Regions from separate parts of the Homo sapiens genome. Here all the other regions are linked to region 2. The links are contacts of gene promoters, found by promoter capture Hi-C in human tissues and cell types (Jung and others, 2019). All regions are on one chromosome and are shown on one strand. The core of a region is centred on a gene start or on the middle of the fragment in contact, and the rest is flanking DNA. Distances in the headings are between cores, read along the strand shown.

The links. Contacts are between HindIII fragments. The study calls those that stand out against the background at their distance.
Region 1: a contact is called between a fragment that was not itself captured here and the fragment with the promoter of LRP12 in region 2, in 1 of the 25 tissues and cell types used here (hippocampus).
Region 3: a fragment that was not itself captured here is called in contact with the fragment with the promoter of LRP12 in region 2 in 1 of the 25 tissues and cell types used here (lymphoblastoid cells).

Annotation. Positions count from the first base shown.
Region 1 is chr8:105,621,857-105,624,556 of GRCh38, forward strand. The region is part of intron 4 of ZFPM2 (zinc finger protein, FOG family member 2); the gene reads left to right. Among named protein-coding and RNA genes, the nearest start is that of ZFPM2, 300 kb to the left of the region's middle. The HindIII fragment of the contact is 3,807 bases long and covers 1-2,700 here.
Region 2 is chr8:104,587,871-104,590,570 of GRCh38, forward strand. LRP12 (LDL receptor related protein 12) reads right to left here and starts at 1,388. Exons shown (of 7, transcript NM_013437.5): 1 at 949-1,388. The coding sequence starts at 1,027. RefSeq lists silencers at 547-656, 1,087-1,426. The HindIII fragment of the contact is 16,882 bases long and covers 1-2,700 here.
Region 3 is chr8:105,639,070-105,641,769 of GRCh38, forward strand. The region is part of intron 5 of ZFPM2 (zinc finger protein, FOG family member 2); the gene reads left to right. Among named protein-coding and RNA genes, the nearest start is that of ZFPM2, 320 kb to the left of the region's middle. The HindIII fragment of the contact is 3,692 bases long and covers 1-2,700 here.

The sequences.
Region 1 (2,700 bases), core at 6-2,505, 1.0 Mb after region 2:
TTATTATTATACTTTAAGTTCTAGGGTGCATGTGCACAATGTGCAGGTTTGTTACATAGGTATACATGTGCCATGTCGGTGTGCTGCACCACATGAAAGAGGGCATCCCTGTAAAATGATTATTTTAAAAGCAGAATAACCTAAATAACACTTTCAAAATAGAAACAATATAGAGAAATCCAAAAGTAATGCTGATTAGTTATTACTAATTGGAATTATTTTATATATAAGGTTATATTATTTATCTAGAAAAAAAACAAAAAGAATTATTTATCTGGCAAAAATAAATAAATAAATAAAACAACTTGGCCCAAACTTCAGTGTAACACACATGCAAATAATTGTAGAATTTAACTCACTGGTATTTCCAATCAGCAATTTTTAATTGATCAGTTTGTCATGTTAGCATTATTTACAAATCCTTTCCAACATACGCATTGATGCTTTTATTCGTATTTCTATTATTTTTATAAAGAATGTGATAGGATAGAGAATTGAGAAAGGAGTTACTAAAATGTAATTTTCTCTTATGACTGAGAATATTCTCCAAAATCTACCTGATTAAGAAATTAAATATTTTAATATAAAATTTCAGGTTTACAATGAGCACAGAGATCTTGCCTTTCATAAAGAGCATCCCATAGAAAACTAGCAACAACAAGATTTAAGACATTTTCCAGGGGCACTATTAATAAAGGTTTATCTCATTTGATTCTGACTTCTTAGCATGCTCCATTAGTTGCCCCAGGCTGACAGAGATGCTGAACAAAGGTCCTTTGGGTTGGGAGCATGTTGAGTGGATCTGTTTGGTTGAAGTCCTTTTCTCATTGTCACTCCCAAGGAAAGCAAGGAAGCAGCCTGGCTCCAGAATGAAGACAAGTGACTTGGGCACTTGGCTTTTACTCTGTAAAAGTGCAGAATTAGTATAGTCCTTCTGCATCTGTTGATTTGGTGAAAAAACAAAAACAAAATAAAACAAACAAAACTGAAAACCACTCTTATGGTTCTGAATCCTGATATTAATATAGTAAATTTTAAAACCAAATATACAGTTTTTCTTTTAACTACATGTTCTTTTCATAATGTGTGTTCTTATACCCATCTATAAACATAAACTATTAACTTGCTTATATTTTGAACTGAAAATATACCTGATATTACAATATTTGAATTGATGGAAGAAGTTTTACTTTAGATACTTAAACATTTATAATATTTCTGTTACTAAAATGTCTCACAGATTAGATAAGCTTTGTTCAGCTACTCTAACACTTCCACACTTTTGCCAACTACTTTGCCAAGATTTTATTTTTTTTGCACCTGACTTTCAATAACTTGACTTTTAATAATTTGTCTCAGAAAATCTGCCTTCCCAAAAGATACTATAGTTATCACAGCACCTATGATATAGTTTAATAATTTCACACACTTTTTCCCTTTGGAGGGGGATCCCCTTCTTATTTCCATTCTTCTAGTTTTGCCATAGACTTCTTCCATTAACTTCAAATATTGTAATAACAGGTATATTTTAAGTTCGAGATATAAGCAAGTTAATAGTTTATGTCTGTAGATGGATATAAGAATACACATCATGAAAACAACATATAATTAAAAGAAAATTGTATATTTGCTTTTAAAATTTACTATATTAATATCGGGATTCAGAATTGCCCTCTTTTTTGGCAGAGGATTGGCTGAAACAGTAATAAAAAGAAGTCAGCCTGAATGGTGACTGAGAGATTCATTACATATTTCAGTGGATTCATTCATGAAAGATGGACACATCTTAGCGTCTGAAGATGACTTTGTGCAGGGTAGTGTTTTCTCTCTTCCACAGAATACCTTTGGGTAATTCTGAAATACAGACTGTTGAACAGAATTGACCACTGTATTTTTTTTTATAGTGGTTTAAACAGGGCATTCACAGTTGAGTTAGTATGTACCTCTGTTAGATACTCCTTTTATTCTTCAGGCTAGCGTTTTTATTTTAGTCACATCACTTTCTCTAAAAGGGTTAAAATATCAAAATGTAGTAAGTTAAAATGGCTTTATTTAGCAATTGGCCAATGCAAATAGTAAAGCTTCCTTAAGTAAGTATAAGCTCAATGTGTTGAGCTTTCCTATATATTTTCTTCTCCATACTCAGAATTTGAGTGAGATTTGATGGGAATTCTACAGTAAAAAGTCTTATAATAATATCGTTATGAAACTGTAGTACATATGAGGTCATCTTAACAGAGAAGGAAGCTGAGACCTTCAGAGGTTAAGTGACTGGCCTCAGGTCACACAGCTGGTACCACAGCTCTCTGGATCCCTGAACCCTGCCACAGGTTTATGTGACAGCCTTACGTAAGAAGGGGTACTCGAGAGCAATTTACTTTTCTCTTCCCAGAGATTCAGCACTGACACACTTTTTGCACATTGCACTAGGTGCAAGCCCAGAAATTCTGCCAGGAGCAAAACAACACTCCTTAAACACCCTGTGACTTTCAGAGCTGTATAAAATAAAAGGTTGAAGTTAATGATTGCCAGTTTGGAGGGAGTAGTTCCTCTTCGGAGCCAAATGTATGTGGGGAACAGATGAGGCTGTGGGAGTGAAGTTGGCAAAAGGGAAAGAGAAATGAGTCTATTCTTTCTGGAAAATGAAAGTATAATAAATATCTGAATAGCTTAGATGTTTATTTTCATCTAGAGATTCTT
Region 2 (2,700 bases), core at 138-2,637:
GTTAAAACTGAGCTCTCTGAAATACCTATTCAGTGTGTTTAACTGATGAACTAAGAACGGTGAAGTCAGAAGTGTAACTTAATTATCTTAAGAGATAGATGTTCTTTGCAATTAATTCCATTCAGCTCTTGCTCAGACCCCAACGCAATATAAAGCTGTCCGCACAGTCTTCAGCCTTCTCTTAACCCGAAAGGAGTTATCTCTAACCCGATCCATCGACTGGAATAAAGTAACAGTGACCACAGCGGCGGACGAGGATGGATGAAATTACAATTGAACTAGGAGTCAGGACAGATGTGTACACCCTAACAGGAGAGACTGAGGTGGGGCTGGAAACTATTTTCTGGCCTTCTCCCGCGTGCTGCTCCCGGGGAACCAACAGGACCCTGCACGCCCGGATTCGGCAGAGCCCTTGCCCCCGAGGTGGAGTGGGGAGAAGTCAGCGGGAAGCCTTTTCAGGGAATCGAGTAGGACAAGGGCTGGCGCGGTGGGAATCTCGCCGGTGAGAGAACTTCCTAACCCCGGGTTGAGGGGGCGGGGGGAAGGACCGTCCCGGCAGCGGCGGGGGCGAGCTCCTCTGCTTTCTCACAGTCAAGCATCTTTGTGTGTGGATTGTGCCAGGCTACGGGTCCTGGAGCAACTGGCCGCGGGGGCCCTCGAACCCAGGTCGGGAAGTCCGCCCGCCACCCCCTCGCTCCGCCGGGGCCCTCCCGGCCGGGCCCCCCAGCCCCTCTCCACCACCCGAGGGTCTGGAGGTGGACGAGTGGAGAAAAGCATCTCCGTGTGGGGACACCCGTTCCGCCACATCCACCCCCTCACCGGTCTTTGTCCCGCCGGTAGCCAGGGTCTCCGCGGGAGTCTCCAGGGGAACCCCCGTCCTGGAGGCCTCGGGGCCCGGGTCGCCTCAGCTTTGTTCGGTCAGCGGGGCGCGGGGACGCGGACACTTACCGTACACCCCAGCGAGGAAAAGCAAGAGCAACGCAGACCTCCACCGCGGAGACTCTTTTGTGCTCCAGCGACAGGCCATAACCACAGCAGATGGAGAGAGAGAGGAGGAGACGGAGGAGGAGGGAGGAGAAGCTGGAGGTAGACGACGCCGACGCCGCCGCCGCCGCCGCCGCCGCCGCCGAGCCACCGGCTGCTCCCTGCGCTCTCCGCGGCTGCGGGAGGGGGAAGGGAGGGGCCGCCGCCGCCCGCGCGCGCTCCCTCCTCCCTCCTCCCTCCGGCTCGCCTGCTCCCACCCCGGGCGGTGCGAGAGCCCCACGCGGGGCGGCCCTCCTGGGGGCAAGGGCAAGGAGCTCGCGCGCCAGCGCGAGACGAGAGGGTGGCGGACGCCGGACTCCGGCCTCGCGCCGCTCGGGCTAGCCGGCGCCGCCACTCGCCAGACTGAGCGCGCGCCCATCCGTGCGATCGGCAATCCCCTGGCCCGCCTGCCTCGGTTCCCTCCCCGCGCTCCGCTGGACTTTCCAAGTTTCGGGCCGATTTCCACGCGACGGGAGCCCAAGGAGCAAGGCAGCGCCAATCGATGACAGAGCGTGCGAACGCCGGCTGCTGGATGCCCAGGGGCTGGAGCGCGGGGTGTGTGGAGGAGCACGGTCGCTGTCCGAGGGCTGGGCTCTGGCCCAGCGGGTGGGGGGAGGGGGGGTGGGATACCAGCTGGGAGGCTGAAGGTGGTTCCGTGTTGGGGGAGGCGTGGATGGTCTGAAGCTGACAACTTGGGAGTTCCTTCCTCTATCCGGTACCCCCAAGTCTCCACTTGCTGTCGGCGCGGAGCTTCGAGTGGGGGTGGGCTCAAGTTAGTGCGGCCAACCTGGCAGCTGGTCGGTCAAGGGGCAGTGTGGACTCCCACGCTCAAGGTGCCCGGAATGAGTCGGGCAAGGCTTGTGCAGAGCCCCTCCAGTCTGGCGTGGAAGCGCCAAGAGGTCATTTGACATCTCACGCTGGGTCGGGTGCAGCTGGGCCAGGATGTTCGGCAGGGCTGGAGCCGACTTTCAGGGTAGATATATTGAAAGGAGGATTCGCCCATCACGCTGCAGTTTCCCTAAAGCTCTTTTCTCACTCCCAGCAAATGGGAGTCCTCCTTTACTTAGATCCCCAGAACACTTTTCTAAGTACGTCTGTAGTGACGCTGGCACATCAGACCTTACCCCCTGTGTTTTTAAAGCGTTTGTCTACAACGTCTTATTTATATTAGATTTTATCGTTGCCCTTTGCAAGCACTCTCCATGCTATTCATTGAAGACCTACACTGCATCATGCTGTCCTATTGACATAGGTTGTCACTTTTTAATCCCAAACATCCTTGTGAGATAAATATTACCCATGTTTTATAGAAAAGAGAGAAATTAAATTACTCATGGCAAGTAAGTTGTTTGAAACAGTTTTTCTCATTCCAAAGTAAAGATTGTTGCCCCTATACCACAGCAAACTCTCTAGCACAATGCTTAGCGCCTAGTAATGTGTCGGAGTTGGTGCCTGCCAGGGGGTTCGTGGTCTCCCTGACTTCAAGAATGAAGCTGCAGACCTTCCCGGTGACTGTTAACAGCTCTTAAAGATGGCACGGACTCAAAGAGTGAGCGGTAGCAAGGTTTATTGCGAAGAGCAAAAGGACAGCTTCCACAGCATGGAAGAGAACCCCAGGTGCTGGCTGGTGGTGGCCAGCTTTTATTCCCTTGTGGTCCCCTCCCATGTTCCATTTCT
Region 3 (2,700 bases), core at 162-2,661, 1.1 Mb after region 2:
TAAAAAGCATAATGCTGAAGTTAAAAGGAGCTCTGCTGGAGAGTAGGGTGAGCAAAGGCCTGCCCACTTACTCCTAAAATCCACTGTCTGTTGAGCACTGATGATCTACTTCTTTACCTTACCTTCTTATATGCTATCTACCGTTTGCAAAGTATGGTGACCTTTTCATATGAAAAACAAATAGTGTACTTAGAATTTTACGTTTTGAGGATATTTAAAATTACACCTTTAGCATCTTTCATGTGGGTTTAATCACTCAGCTTCAAATCGGGAATAATTACATTATTTAGTTTTTCAATTTTCTTGTAGTTGTTATTTCAAAGTAGCCACATTCTCTAGGTCTCCAGATTAAGAGAATAAACACTGTCAATCAAGAGAGTGAAAAAGTATCTGCTAACCCTCACTCTCACCTCAACAACATAATATTTCTTTATATGCGAAGCCACAATATTATTATAAAAATCTATATTTCATGTGTAACCTTAGACAAATCACTTGCCCACTCTAATCTTGATTTTCTCAGCTGTGAAAATGGAATAGCAATGGCTACCATGCAGGATTTTTGTGAAGCACCCATTTACATGATTGCAGAGGTTATGATCAATATTATGTTGCTGATTATCATACAAGCAGTCCTTGTGGTCATAAGTCAGTACACACTGAGAGAAAATGAAGCCAGGCCTCCATGTTGGTATCAAGCATATAGTGATATCGTATTTATAGCGAAGACTTCTACAAGTCTTATTCAGTCACTTTGAACCCACAGAATATTTGCAGAGATCTGTGTCACAGAATTAGAGACCTGAAGCCTGTCTGGGAGCATATCATTGGATTTTTTTCTTGGGCACGTGATACTTTTATTTTAGTGAAAGTCTTATATACAATGCTAGTATAAAGATGAAAATGATGATATTATTAATACTAATAATAGCAATTACTATTTATTAATCTTTGTTCTATTCTAGACACTGTTCTAATCACTTTACGTACATTTTCTTGCTTACAATACAAATTCATGATATCGAAACAGTGCTTTTCCCATTTTACAGATGAATAAATTTAGGTTTCGATGGGTTAAGTAAGTTAAAATGAAGAAGTTGGGATTCAATCTTAAGCTTGTTGACTTCAATTCCCAATTGTACAATCAACAAAATTTTGGAAGATGCCATTTACTAAGCCAAGGTTACAGGTTATTGCCTTTCTTTGCAAATTTGCATACATATTTATCAGCAATTTTTTTTCCCATTCTTTGGCTTGACTTTAAAGAGATTATTCAAACACTAAAACAGCAGTGGCAGCAATAGTTTATGCTAATTTCTTTGTTGTTTCTGAGACCACAGCAATTTCAAATCATGTAGACGGCTGCACAGCAATCTCAAAATCATACTATGACAGCCTTCAAAGTTCTGATTTTGCAAGGTTCTTATGAATTTAAGCATGCAATTAGTTAATTTAACCATTTTTGAATGTCCTTTATGTCCAAGGGCCTATTCTAGGCACCATTGAAATAATGACAGAAATTCTAGTATGATTTAGCTTGAGTAAGTAACTTTCTGCACACTCTCTAAATTAAATTTTCAAAACAAATGTCTTTCATTACAAAGATTCTTGTAAAAGTCCGAACCATGTTCCACCTTAAAATAGATAATCTGTTGCATGTTACTAGAATTTTCAAACAATAGCTTTGTCTAATGTGGCAGCCAATTTTCAGAGTAGCCCAAAAGTTAATGTTTAACTTTACCTAGAGGGTATAATGTTGTATAAATAATAAACTAATTTAAAAGGAAAAATTTGCGTTCATATTTTACGCATTTATTTAACTATTCAGTAATTCATAGAAAATGTATAACCATTGTCTAATTTTACAGTATTCTTGAAAGAGGGTGAGTGCCCGAACTAAATATTTAGCAGTGGGAATTATAAAATCATAAGGCGATTAAGTTAGCTAGTCGCAGAATTCCAATATTGCTTTTTAAATGACTTCAGGATATAGGAGGTACTAAGGTTATTATCTGTTATCAGGAATACAGTGGAATTGTACAACTGGATAATAACCAAACAAACTGACACAATGTAAAATTACATTATCAGTGTGTTAAAACAAAATTGCGCCCTAAAGGAGTCCACATGCCAGCTCAGAGCTGCAGTGTAATTATGCTTAACTCTGATAATTAAAATACTACGGAGATCAACAGAATCATTTTCATTAAGAAAATTATTAATGATGGTGGTATAACAGTAATTGATTGCAGAGCACCACAGGATAACGCGATGCCGAAAACCCATGTTTCATGAACATCTGAGGCTTTTTCTGGTTACGTTCTATTAATATTTTGAGGAGTGAGCAATTTATTATTCCTTTCCTAGGAATCTATGATTGTAAAAATGGCTGCTTTTTAAAAACCACAGTTTTGATTCAAATTGTCATTTCTAAGGGGTTCTTAAGGTCAAGACAAGTGACCCCACTAGTGACTGTGTTATTTAAAATAGAGCTGTCTGTTGCAAATTGCAGAATGGCAGCAACTTCTGCAAATAGTGAGCCTTGTGTCATTTCCATTTCTTACTATGCATTTACTGTTTTTACTGTTATGTTAGTGATTTATTGATGTTATTTCAATCTGAGTCTGGGTGTACTGAATAGTTTATTGTCTTTAGTTATTACTACTATATGCTATATGATGTGAAAAATACATTTGTTTT